2 separate regions of the Homo sapiens genome follow, and region 2 is linked to region 1. The links are contacts of gene promoters, found by promoter capture Hi-C in human tissues and cell types (Jung and others, 2019). All regions are on one chromosome and are shown on one strand. Each heading gives the region's core, a stretch centred on a gene start or on the middle of the fragment in contact. The rest is flanking DNA. Distances are from core to core; before and after follow the strand shown.

Region 1 (6,798 bases), core at 3,385-5,884:
TTGTGAAGTTTTTTTTTTTGACAGAATCTCACTCTGTCACCCAGGCTAGAGTGCAGTGGTGCCACCCCCACTCACTGCAACCTCCGCCTCCCAGGTTCAAGCGATTCTCCTACCTTAGCCTCCCGAGTAGCTGGGATTACAGGCATGCCACTGCGCCTGGCTAATTTTTGTATTTTTAGTAGAGACAGGGTTTCACCATGTTGGTCAGGCTGGTCTCGAACTCCTGACCTCCAGTGATCCACCCGCCTCGGCTTCCCAAAGTGTTGGGATTACAGGCGTGAGCCACTGTGCCAGGCCCATTATGAAGTTTTAAACAGAAGAGGATGGGCTTTTGCTGGGATTTTTACTTTATTGATTTGCTCGTGTGTAGCATTTCTTATGTGGCAGACACTGTTTTAAGCCCTTTAAAATCTTACCTCATTAATGCTCTTAACAACCTGTGAATTAGGAACTATTACTGTTTGCATTTTGCAGAGGAGCCTGCAACCACTATGTCATCCTGCCTCTAGTGTTGAGTACAATGTTCCTGTTGTGAGGTGGAAGAGGAGAAAACGGGATTAGGTGGACTGGTTCGTAAATACTGTCCCTAGACTGATGAACTGGCTAGGTAGCCATCCCTGGAGCTCTTGCTTAAAATGCAAATTCACAGGCCTTACACCAGGATATCTGGTTCAGGAAGACTGGGGGTTTTGAAACACTGACCTAGACAATGTGTGCGGGAACCCCCGCCCCTCCTGCAAATCCAGGAATCCTTGATTGAAACATCATCTGATTACTCTAATACGAACATGACTCCAGGGAGCAACAGTAGCTTATGCTGCCACCTCCCATGCATTTTCTAGTCCTTCCAGCTCCGGTGTCTAAACCACAGTCACTGATGGTGACAATTCTGACCACTCCACCCCCAGCTCCATCTGCTGAAAACCAGAAGGCTGCCTTGAGTCCTCCCGAGCCTCCCACACACTGCCTGCTTTCCTTCCGTAAGATCTTGGAGCCCACGGTCTTCTTAAAGGCTTAAAGCATCCCCACAGCAAGACAAAATGGGCATCTTTATTCTCTATAATTAACTGCTGCCCCCCTTTCTGTTTTGCCAACAGCTATGCGGTTCAGCGGGATGACCCCGCTACGGAGCATTATTGTCTCATTCCAGTCGAATGGACCAATCACATAGCAATGTGTGACCTTGAGACTGGAGAAGGAATTGAGCCTAACTTCATCCCCCACCCCCTTCCAACCTCCATTCTACCTCTACTTCCAGCATTTTCTTACTTGCAGACCCAGAAGAGGTTGGAGGTCCTGGCCAGTCTCTCACTCTTTTCCTTCTTCACTCACATTTTTATGTGTCTTTAAGTGGCTGGGAACAGCCATGTTGACTCCATACACCCAGAAGTTTGAGGAGAGTTTGCTATTACATCACTTCTGCTAATTTCAGCTCTGCTGTTGAGCACACAGACCTCAGCAAATCAACCAGACCATTTCCAACCCCTCTTGACTTTAAGAAGACTGGGTCATGCTCTGAGAAATGAAAGCAGAGAAGGAGATGGCTTGCAAGCCCCCTGAGGTTACCACGATAAGTTGGCTTGAGAGGGAGGTAAAAGCAATTCAGAGGACCACTTGGGAAAGCCCAGACAGGATATTATCAGTGGCGTGTGTAAAGTTCCCATCACCATCTAAAGTGAAAGATGCCAGAATTATAAAAACTGACTGCATTATCTTCTCAGCTCTGCTTTGTGACTTCTAAGAATTCAACTGCTTTTCTATTTTAAAATAGGGACATTGTCCTCCTTCTCAATGCATCACCTGTATCATTTGGGACATGCCCATCATCAGGTTGCTTTGACTGAACACCTTAAACATTTCATGGAAAACAGAAAATATGTGAAAAAAAAAATCTCCTCCTAGTCACGAGATCCCATATAACACTCCAGCTTCTTCTTTAATGTGGTGGAAAAACATTCTAAATACCCCAACAGAAGGGCAAGAAAACTGGAACCTAACTGACCATCTTGAAACATGTAATAAAAACGGACACATCAACCACACTTCCCAAGAGGCTTGCTCCCTGAATGTACACTAGTAATTATCTGAGGCGGTAACTGAATTCAGCTAAAATAGAGAAGGCAGCTATAGAGAAGCTCAGCGCTTCTCTCAAGAGCCCCTAATCCTGCTGGATTCCAGTCCACTGGGTCATGATGCCCTAAGATTTCAAGAGCTGTGGCTGCAAACTGGAAATTCTCCAAGGGGAAGAGCATTCTTGATTCTTTTTGGACATAAGTGTTGGACACAGGTGGTAGGAAATCATTTCTAACATAGCTTTCTGAGGGGCACTTACACCAAAAGTTGGGCATTTTTTTAACCACATCCAAGAAGTGTGGATTTATTTATTCTATTATATACCTGCCTCAATTCCAGCAGCAGTTTGGTAGAGGTTATCAACTTAGAAATACCGGTTATTAAACTTTCAGAGCAAGGCTTTAACAGCTACAGCCTACATGGCTGTTCATATAAAACCGACGTGCAAATAAGAGGAATTTCTTTTTCTTATTTTATTACCTTGAGCTCCTTGACTGTAGAAGAATCTTTGAGCTGACTCAACATCCAAGAGTCTGTGAGCAGACTCTACATCCAGAAAATAATCCATTTTGGGATAATCCATCCTTGATGTTCCAAACACAGAGTTTTGAGAGAAAACACTGGAACACCTATAAAGAGGAAAAAAAAATCCACAATATTTTAGACGTCAAGTATAAAGTGTATATATAGATGTACTTTAAAATGTTTGAATAAGAATATCCCATTATAATATTCTACTACTTGATTGACATTTGCAATTCTAAAGCCACCCCCCAGCATAGCTTTCCTACCGTGTGAGAAAATGCCGCATTTAGCCAACATTCATTAAAAGTAATATATTCTACTCAGGAAAAACAGATGATCTGATCTAAAGAGAGATAACATACCAGCCTTTCCTTGCTTTATATTCTCTGGAACATATACTGTTAAATTCACATGCTATCAGTTTTCAAAAGGTCTATTTGATAAATAGCGTCATTAAGTGTCAGCCGTTGTGAGTGTTGATCCTCAGCTCATCCTGGGACTTTCGGATTCCCCTGGAGCAGGGAAAATTGCCTGGGAATCCGAGCCTCCACTCATAGATGCCGTGCGTTTATGACACACACTGACATATTTGCTGTACAAATGCTTTGAATTCCTTCCTTTCCGGCGATTCCCTTCAGCACATTTTATAAAGTGCTAGAGGATCGTCACCTGCCTGTGCCTGGCAGGGGCTGATTTTTGAGAAACAATTGTGGTTTGTAGAGCAGCAAGAATGATTGCAGCATTACAGTGATCCCTATATTATCATACACTAGCCTGTCACAAAGCTAATATACTTCCCCAGAAAACATTCAGCCTGTTGGGTTCTTTTTTCAAGCCTATGTAGCCTTTCCCTGATACTCACACAAATGAATTATCTCTATTTCTGCAGAATATTTTTTTGGAAAGAATTAACAAGACAAAGTCATTAAAACCAAGCTTGGAAGTCTAATCCAATTGGTTTCTCTTTCTAACAGTATGTATTTTAATTTAAGAAACCAAGTCCGGTAAGACAAAACTTTTAAAAATACCCAAAGGTACCCCAATAGCAAATATACTTACTGCAAAAAATAAAAATCAAAGGCTATCTGTCAGCGGTAAAACAAGAGCCGTTCCAGCCAGAGTGTCTTTGATCTTGCTAAATATTCCCGGTGAAAGTAAACGATTTTGATTGTTTGATTAGAACAGTGATGAATAATGCATACAGTCCACTGGACTTCCTTTATCAGATAAAATGGCCAGAGCACGTTACCTTAGCAACGGAAGGTGACGCCAGCCTCAGCCTCTGCACCCTCCCCTGCGAAGGGAGAAAATTACCAGTTTCCCGTGTAAAACTTTGGCAGAAAATCATCAAATCCACATGCATACATCATGCAGGGCTATTCCCCAGCCCCCTATCTCTTAGGCAGAGAAGTGCCATAGTCATTAAAAAAAAAACAAAACAGATTTATGTCTTCATTGTTTATTTTCATAATCCCAAATCTTAGTTTGATTTGCAGCTACAAAAGAATAGAATATGAAATGATTAAAAATTTAATATATAGAAAAGTTGTCTAGAAATTTTTGTGGGGGCACCAGTTATTACCCTAATGCTGGCCTAAGAGTGGCAGGGAATGGGGGAGTTTAGGGAAAGGCCATTTTAGCTTAACATACGTTAGACATTCCCCTGTTATAATTAATACACAGAACAGCCACCGGCATCTAGGCTGAAAATAACTCTTCCCTTCTGCAAATCAGTCACTGGAAGAAGCTTAAAAAGCTGTCTGAAATTTCCCAGATTCTGAAAGACATATTATAGCATAGATTTTGTGGGAGATCCCCACTCCCCCCACAACCCCCATCCCCGGCAAAGGAAAATTAGCCAAAAAGATATTTGAAAGGAAGAGTCTGGAAGTTAGCGGATACTCACCGGCACTTGTTGACCCCTTTCAACAGGACACGGTAGAGTACAAAACAAAGCAGTGCGACGCTTCTGAGCCCGCAAGCACAAATGAACAGCTTCTAATTTTCCCTTCAATCTCGCTTCAAGAGCACTGAGCAGAGGGAAGTGATGGATTTGCCCATTTATACTGTGATGAAATGCAACCCTTAAGAAGAGATCTGAGTGGAGCTGCTCTTTAGAACACATTAGACTGCTAATTTAAGAAAATTGAAAGGTTTTGTTTTACTGTCTTTTATGTGTTCTTCTCTGCTACCCCCTCAATTTAATTTGCATTTAAAATTATTCTCATGTCTCCTCAGCTCTCCAAGGTGTGGAGTACTTTCTAATCATGAAGGCTGCTCCAGTAGGGTTTGGTGCAACACCACTTTTATGCTGAGCTGCAAAACAAGGCAGGTAGTCATAATTGTGAGCTGTTTTCTGGAGCGAAATACAGAGGGCACGTTTGATGTCACCCCTTCCCTCTTGCCTGGCTTTCTTCCTTTCCTTGCTTCTGATTGCCTGGTCAAATATCCAGCGCAGATCATGCCAGTCTGCCTAAATGCATTTCTCTCTGTCTGAATGTAACAAAATAATACCAACAACAAAAATAAACTTTGGCTAGTATCTCAAGTTATTCTGGTTTAATATTCTTCCTACCAAACCTCAGTAATGACTTTTAGGCACAGTACTTTGAGATCTTCATGCAGGGCATAGTGATAGCCAAATGCAAGCCCTACTGTGGGTTTTCCACAACCTCTTGCACCCTTTGTTGACCAAGCAGAATTGCTCATTAGTATGGTGTGGTGTACAGTGGGTCAGCTTGTTAAGAAAAGAGCATTTACATTTGATAAGCCTCGGAAGGAAGACCATCAACACCACCCCTGTCCCCCCACTCCCTATACACAGCTCGGCTGGCTGCCCTTGAAACAAACCTGAAAATCCTCTGCTGTTTGTTTTGTGGGGTCTCCCTCTCCCACCCGATCAGAACAGATCAGACACCAAGCCGGTGCTGCAGACAGTTAAGCCTCATGAAAAAGGAAGCTGAAACTACCAATCATATGCCCTTGTAGGAAAGTCAACTATGGACTCTGAATTCTGAAAGCTTTGCTCCAACCCAAGGACTGACTTCTTTAAGGTTACTTTTCTATTCAGCACCCACTGGAGACATGCTGAACACTTGACATTTATAAGAGGAGAAAGCTGTCTTCTGGTTCCTTTTACTTACTGTGAGGTGTGGGCGACAGGTTCTGAACTCGTTATTGTAATTCTACTGAAATTGTAATGACTCATAGATGAGAGAAAGAGAGAGAGAGAGAGTATAAGTCTATGCTGCTGACCAAACCTTTAGGTGAGTGCAAATGAATGTGTGATTGAAGAAAGAGATGCTAAACTGGAAATGTGAAAAATAGAGTTGATTCCCAGGGGGTAGGTGGTGGATTTGGAAGTCAGTCATTTCTGGAGAGTTGACCAAGAAAGAGAAATTTAAAATACTTTACAAAGTGAACAAATAATATGAAAGGGTCGTAATTTAAGAAAACTCAGGAGGGAAAATTTCAACTTAAAGAAATGTATTTGGGGCCGGGCACAGAGGCTCATGTCTGTAATCCCAGCACTATGGGAAGTCAAGGTGGGTGGATCACCTGAGGTTAGGAGTTCAAGACCAGCCTGGCCAACATGGTGAAACCCCATCTCTACTAAAAATATAAAAAATTAGCCAGGCATGGTGTTGGGTACCTGTAATTCCAGCTACTTGGGAGGCTGAACAGGAGAATCGCTTGAACCTGGGAGGTGGAGGTTGCAGTGAGCTGAGATCATGCCATTGCACTCCAGCCTGGGTGACAGAGCAAGACTCTATCTCAAAAAAAAAAAAGAAAGAAACAAAGAAAGAAATGTATTTGGGAAGGGGATGATTATTCATTTGCAAACAGGGACTTACTTTTACTAAATAATTATCACTGTGTTCTGTAGCATCATATGACCAACTTCTGTAATAGATTTTCAAAAAATGATCTCACTCTCTGGGGAATATAGCTATAGATTACATATAGGTGTGTGTGTGTGTGTTCAAAAATTATTTTTAAATATGGTAAAGCATAGTAATGTTCAAAAGCCAATGTCAAAATCTGATTAGCTCAATTCTGTTTTGTAACTTTAAACTGCTCCAAAACAACACTTATAATGGTCTATTGTTCTGAGAAATAATCAGAGAGGAAGGCAAGGTTACATCAAGTATTCAAGCTAACACGTATTCGGCACTGAACAATCCAACCCAAAACATTCTC
Region 2 (6,750 bases), core at 3,649-6,148, 1.1 Mb after region 1:
AAAGCGCTAGCAAATAAGAAAGGCACATGCTTCCTGAATTTGGGTGAATGAACCGACAACACTCACTTTAAAGGGTTTTCTTTTTCTTTTTTTTTCCTTTTAACTAGGAGAGAGAATGCGGACCAGGCTTTCCCTCAGCAATTTTTCTAATGAAAACATTTGGTGCCACCTGGTGGCCAAATTTACACGGACGCCTCAGCCTTCGCAGAGTACAAATGTCTCCCGGTTGAACTGGATATTAAAAACCCTGGTGCTACTCGGGAGGCTGAGGCAGAGTGGCATGAACCCGGGAGGCGGAGCTTGCAGTGAGCCAAGATCACGCCACTGCACTCCAGCCTGGGTGACAAAGCGAGACTCCGTCTCAAAAAAAAAAAAAAAAAAAAAAAAAAAAAAAAAAAAACCCTAGTGCAACCAATTTGGTAAATTTCTAAGAATATAGAGAATTTAAATTTCTCCTTATTGAAGACAAAATTCCCCACCTGCGTTCCACCACGCCTCTTGGGGACAATTTGTTTTCCTGAACAGGTGGCTTTCTTTAAGTGAACATTTTCTCTAAGGTAATATGCTTCATGCAGAGTTCACTTTTGAGCTAAAAGAAGGGCAAGAAGTGCAAATAATTATTGTGGCATGAGAGAAGGAGAAGGAATTGCCCAGAAATCCTTTAGGCCCCTTCAGTGTCTACTGGCCTAGGATTCCAAAAAGGTTTGAGAATGTTTCTCATACTCATATTTGGCCCAAGCACACGGGTCCAGTGGGTCAACTTTCACTTTGAGAAAAGCTTCAAATTCCACATTCTTGGATAAAACATAAATAGAGCCCAGTTAGTCCCTCTCAGGCTTTTATGAACTAGAATCATATTTCTTAACCTATCATTCCTGAGTGTGAGAAAAACAAGAGGAATGATATGTAATGTCTTAACAAGCTGTGCTGGGATACCAATTTTAACTGGCCAATAGAACCAACGCAGATTATGTTTTAGAGAAATCTAATCCCTTATAAATCAGCTGTGTGTAAAAACCCTCACATAAACAAGTGATGTGTTGTGAGTAGCAAGGAGAAAAAAAAAATTCTCCTGGAAATGTGTAGGTCTATTAGCGGAGACAAGCGCTGCTCGCCTCGTGCTCCATACTCCGAAGGGCAATTCATGTTAAAGGCAGTAGTGGGCTGGCCCCCTTTATGCTGAACATAGGAAATACAGAAAAACATCTACGAGACTGAGCAAAGTGGTAGTATTTCGTGCACTGGCTGGCTCAGCACCAAAATTCAAATCAATACTCCAGAGAGAAGAGCCCCCAGAAACAGCCCAGCAAGAGCTTGGAGGGTTCAATGATCATTTAATTTAAGCCCCTCTTTTTACAGACAAATGAACACAGGCCCCCAAGAGTTTAGGTGATGTTCCCGTGGGCCCTTATCAAGTTAGAGCAGAGCCCAGGGAGAGAGAGAGTTGAGGTCCTCCGCTCTCTGCTTCTGCCTCCACACTCTGCTTGCTCTGACCAACGTCCTCCCACCGGCGATGCAGAACTTCAAAGGGATGGAAAAGGTGGCAAAGTCACCAGTGAATCTGTGTGATATACATAACTGATGACTTCCTCCTTTAAAAATTTTTTTGAGAGAGGGTCTTGTTCTGTTACCCAGGTTGGAGTGCAGTGACACAATCGTAACTTGAAATCCTGGGCTCAAGTGAGCCTTTTGCCTCAGCCTCCCGAGTAGCTGGGACTACAAGGAGCACACCTCCATGCCTGGCTAATTTGTTAAAATGTTTCTTTAGAGACGGTAGTCTCACTATTTTCCCCAGGATGGTCTTGAACCCCTGACCTCAGGTGATCCTCCCGCCTTGGCCTCTCAAAGTGGTGACTTCAGGTGTGAGCCACTGTGCCCAGCAGCTTCCTCCTTTACAGAAATAAATTAATGCAAAATAAAGGAGGAAGAGAGAAATGATAGCTAAGCAGAGAACATGCAACAAAGTCAATGCTAACATCCACGTGATTGAGCATCTACTGTATGGCAGGTGCTTCACATGCGTTATCTTGAATGGGTGAACATTCTCCAATACAGCAGGGTTCCATCCATTCCACAGGTGAGGCACCTCATGCTCAGGTGGGTAAATTGCCCACCACCGTGTGGTAATAAAAGGGCAGAACACACACATGAAATCAGGACACCCTGACTCCAAATCCTATCACTGTTTCATGTCTCCAGCTGCAGACAACTCTTATGTGAGCCCTGGATAGGAAAAGGAACAGAGTCATGGAAGGTCCACTTAAGTTCTCCTTCAAGCAGCTAAGGAGGTGCTGTCTCTAACAAGCCAAATTAAGATAGGCAAAGTCACCCCAGCAGCTGTTGACTTCAGCATTTGCTTTTAAAATGAGAATTATTGTCTCAGGGTGAAGACTCCGGTTCAAGCATGAGTCATGCACCCCAGCAGACCTGGTTTGTTTTTAGCGAAGTGTGGCCGGGGGAGGAGGGGTTGTATTCACCAGCAAAGCATGTCACAGAGGATGTACACACACACACACACACACACACACACACACACAGACACACAGACACACACACACACACGTCTGCCCATTACAGCTGCTCCAGGCATCTCTCGCCTGACAGAATAGGGTCTGTTTCTGACCCCCACACATCCTTAAAGAATGTGATCTTTGCAGAGATCACTAGCAGGAAATGACCCTGAGGAAAGCCACTTGATGTCATTCTTTGAATGTTCTGCTGTCAGCTCCCAAAACTGTCAGGAATGAGGTCGTAAGTGTCTCCTTCAGCTGCATAAATAGAGGCCACCAAAGGTCTCCAGGAAAGAAAAAAGCTGGTAATCACAGCAATTCACGTGTGGACCAAATATGGCAGCACCGGTGGAAGACAGAGTCATGTTATGACTCACACAAACCCAAGCTGGAATCCCATAGCTGCTGTTTTCCAGGGGTATGACATTGAACTGCATAAATGCCTCAGTTTCCCCATCTGCTTGATGGGCATCAGAGCATCACTATGAGGGCTGAGCCGAGTACTTATAGAAGCAGTGGGTGATATAGGTAGCCAGTGCCTGATCAATGCTGCTTCTCATCCATCCTCCTCCTGCATGATGTGGTTAGAAATCTCCAATGGCTGGGCGCGGTGGCTCATGCCTATAATCCCAGCACTTTGGGAGGCCGAGGCCGGCGGATCACCTGAGGTCGGGAGTTTGAGACCAGCCTGACCAGCATGGAGAAACCCCATCTCTACTAAAAATACAAAATTAGCCAGGCATGGTGGCACATGCCTGTAATTCCAGCTACTGGGGAGGCTGAGGCAGGAGAATCGCTTGAACCTGGGAGGTGGAGGTTGTGGTGAGCTGAGATTGCGCCATTGCACTCCAGCCTGGGCAACTTCCAGAGTGAAACTGTCTCAAAAACAAACAAAAAAAAGAAATCTCTGGTGCGGCTGGGCATGGTGGCTCACACCTGTAATCCCAGCACTTTGGGAGGCCAAGGCGGGTGGATCACCTGAGGTCAGGAGTTCGAGACCAGCCTGGCCAATGTGGTGAAACCCTGTCTCTACTAAAAATACAAAAAATTACCTAGTTGTGGTGGCACACACCTGTAATCCCAGCACTTTGGGAGGCCGAGTCGGGCAGCTCACTTGAGGTCAGGAGTTGGAGACCAGCCTAGCCAACATGGCAAAACCCCGTCTCTACTAAAAACACAAAAATTAGCCAGGCGTGGTTGCGCACACCTGTAATCCCAGCTACTCAGGAGGCTGAGGCAGGAGAATTGCTTGAACCCGGGAGGCAGATGCTGCAGTGAGCCGAAAACATACCACTGCACTCCAGCCTGAGCAACAGAGCGAGACTCTGTCCCCAACTCGCCCCAGAAAAGAAAAATCTCTGGTTCCATCAGAACCAAGAGTGGCCCAACAAAGGGCTGACCAGTCCAGCTTCCTGGTCATGGAGGTCACACTGATGCTAATGGATCAAGTTGGCAAGCTTGACATTTAATGTAAAACTGCTAGCATCAGATTATTTGGGGCCAACGTTCCCCCAGTGCTTAAGAATCACTGTTATAAATTCTTCTTCCTTGCAGCTCTCAGAACTGATCCCTCCTCTCTTTGGCACGTATCTCTGCCTCAGTTCCAGCTCTCAGCCCCCTCCCTGAATCCCACAGCACCTCCCAACTATGTCCCTGCCTTCAATCTGCCCCATCATCCCCAATCCCTACATTGCTGCCAGAGTGAGCTCTCTGACATGTCTGTCTGAGGTGATGGATATTATTGGGTGTCTCTCAGCATCATTCTGTCTTCTTCTTTAAACAGAGACTGGATTTCGTTCAGACACCTAAATCTCCCACCTTTGCCCTATGCTTCTAGGAAAGCTGTCTCTTCTCCCTTTTCCTTGGGCAGGCCTGATTGATCGAAGAGTTAGCCTATCCACTTACCAGTGACTGTTTTAATATTGGTCCATGTTTCAGTTCTGGACAATGTTCTGGAAGGAAAGGTTTGTGGCTGCTTCTGGGAATATTCTTCACTTCTTATCTGCAGGCCATGAAACGTGTAAAATTCTGCCATGACACTATCACACTGCCTTACTCATTTATGTGTTTGGATCCCTACAGAGACTGTAAGCTCATAGCGTAGGCCTTCTCTTACTCTACTCTTCATCCCACTCCTAATACTGGCACATAGTAGACCTTCAAATAACAGTTGCTGAATGAATGAATGAATGAAGGAATGATGTTTAAATTATCAAGGGTGGTGAATCTTCCCAAAGCACTTCCTAACAGACAAAGGGACAGAGATCCTACTCCACAATAAAAGAGCATCCACTTATTGATGATGTTTGCTATAAACTCACATCTGTTGCAGCTGCCTTTTCCAGAACACAATGCCAGGCCAGATGTCAACCTTCTTTCCTAAGTAGGAAGTGTTTCCTAAGTCACATACACAAGAAGACCTCTCTACAGGATGTTATGATTGCCCCTTAAAGGCAGCAACAAAGCAAGGTTTTAGGACACCAGAGTCAGATGCACTTTGAACACCCTGTCTTCTCAGCAGAGGCAACATCATGTACTGGCCTGAATCATCAAAATCAACAAGACAGGTAGTACAGAAGGGTATGAACTTGAAGCAGAAGGGACCCTGGCCTCACCGGCAGGGCATTACAATTTGAAGTGGACATAAAGCATAATCACCAAAGACATTAAATTAAAAATCCTGCCTGCCCCCATAAAGCCCAGAGGACAAATTAGTAGAGTTGTATACAGGCTGCAATGGAATCATTTGCAATTAAGAGCAGTAATTTAGCTTCTGTTCCTGTAATTATAACTGCTCCTGTGTGGACAGACAGATCCCTCATTGTGTCTGGAACAATCGCAGCATTCCAAACATAAAGCAAGCCAAAGTAGCATACCCCAGGGCCGCCTCTTTCAACAAGCTATCGCTCAACAGCCCCCCGGTGCAGCCGGCTTGAGGGCCCAGTTTCCTGCCATTGTTAGCCTGCTGAGCCTGGAATTCCATCCAAATGGGTTTGACCCCTTTGCTAAACAGCAGTGCATATTTCCCTGATTAGTATATTCCTGTGTTTAGATGGGAAGTGGCAAGGTTGGGGGAGGTGAAGGGAGAAAGACAAGGAAAATAATAAGGAAAAACAACTCCATTCTATTCATACAATGATGATAGCAACCTGGAACTCTGGCTTCATCTGCAAGTGTAATATCCGTGCTACTCATGCATAAATAAATATTCATCCATCAAAAATTCTGTGTTATGTGCATGCCATAGACTAACCAGGCTAGGAATGAGCATGCACACCTGACTTCATTAATAAGTAGTTATTGCTATGGGGGGTCTGTTTATTCTAAGAACATGCAGAAAATTATAAACTATAATCTCCTTGTGGTTGTCCTTAATTACGTGAGTTCTGTCCCTCAAGGATATTTCCTTCTGACAATGACACTGAAGAGGGGCCTTTTGGTATTCGGCAACTGGAGTGATTCCTGCATATATAGGACTGCCCTTCTCCACACCACATCTTCTCCCACCGTACCCTACTTCCTGCTGTTTCGTCTAATGCTACAGTTTCTATCCATTCATTTTGCCTTTTATATTAATCTGGAATTCCCTCTTACAGATCACTTCACCATGTATTCCTTAGCAAACATTTTTATCACCACGTTTATTAATGTCTATTTGTTAATGACCCAAAGGCAAAGAAAAAATAATTCACCGTTTAAAGTCCTACGAGGTTATCAAAATTAAAAACATATATGATTTAAAGACACCATCAAGAAAGTGAAAAAGCCCATAGAGTGGAAGAAAAGTTTCACAAATCATACATTTAATAAGGGACTTGTATCTAGAATATATAGGGAACTATGACAACTCAAGACAAATAACCCAGTTGAAAGCAGGCAAGAAGCTGAACAGACATTTTACCAAAGAAGACATACAAGTAGCCAGCAAGCACATGAAAAGATGTTGGGTGTCATTAGCCCCCAAGGATCAATCAAAACCACAATAGGATACCACTGTTACGTGCGGGTCTTTGTTCTTAGAGCTCCCAAGATATGGCGGGCCACTCTCAAGACGGGGGCAAGCCTCTTATTCTCTGACCTGGGGTTCTTGGCCTCACGGATTCCAAGGAATGGAAGCTTGGGCCATGCGGTGAGTGTTATAGCTCTACTAGAAGCCGTGAGTCACAGAAGAGAACCCTGGAACCCAGCAACTAGCGTTCAGCTCGATTAGGACGAACCCTGGGCCCTTAGCCATGCAGGA

Evidence for each region. Contacts are between HindIII fragments. The study calls those that stand out against the background at their distance.
Region 2: a contact is called between a fragment that was not itself captured here and the fragment with the promoter of PHACTR1 in region 1, in 1 of the 25 tissues and cell types used here (lymphoblastoid cells).

The regions. Positions count from the first base shown.
Region 1 is chr6:12,714,603-12,721,400 of GRCh38, reverse strand. PHACTR1 (phosphatase and actin regulator 1) reads right to left here and starts at 4,634. Exons shown (of 15, transcript NM_030948.6): 1 at 4,505-4,634; 2 at 3,658-3,892; 3 at 2,554-2,702. The coding sequence starts at 2,656. The region is part of intron 1 of LOC107984015 (a long non-coding RNA gene); the gene reads left to right. The HindIII fragment of the contact is 3,467 bases long and covers 1,516-4,982 here.
Region 2 is chr6:11,649,176-11,655,925 of GRCh38, reverse strand. No RefSeq gene overlaps it. Among named protein-coding and RNA genes, the nearest start is that of TMEM170B, 110 kb to the right of the region's middle. RefSeq lists a silencer at 83-252 and enhancers at 4,585-5,190, 5,191-5,796. The HindIII fragment of the contact is 5,050 bases long and covers 2,374-6,750 here.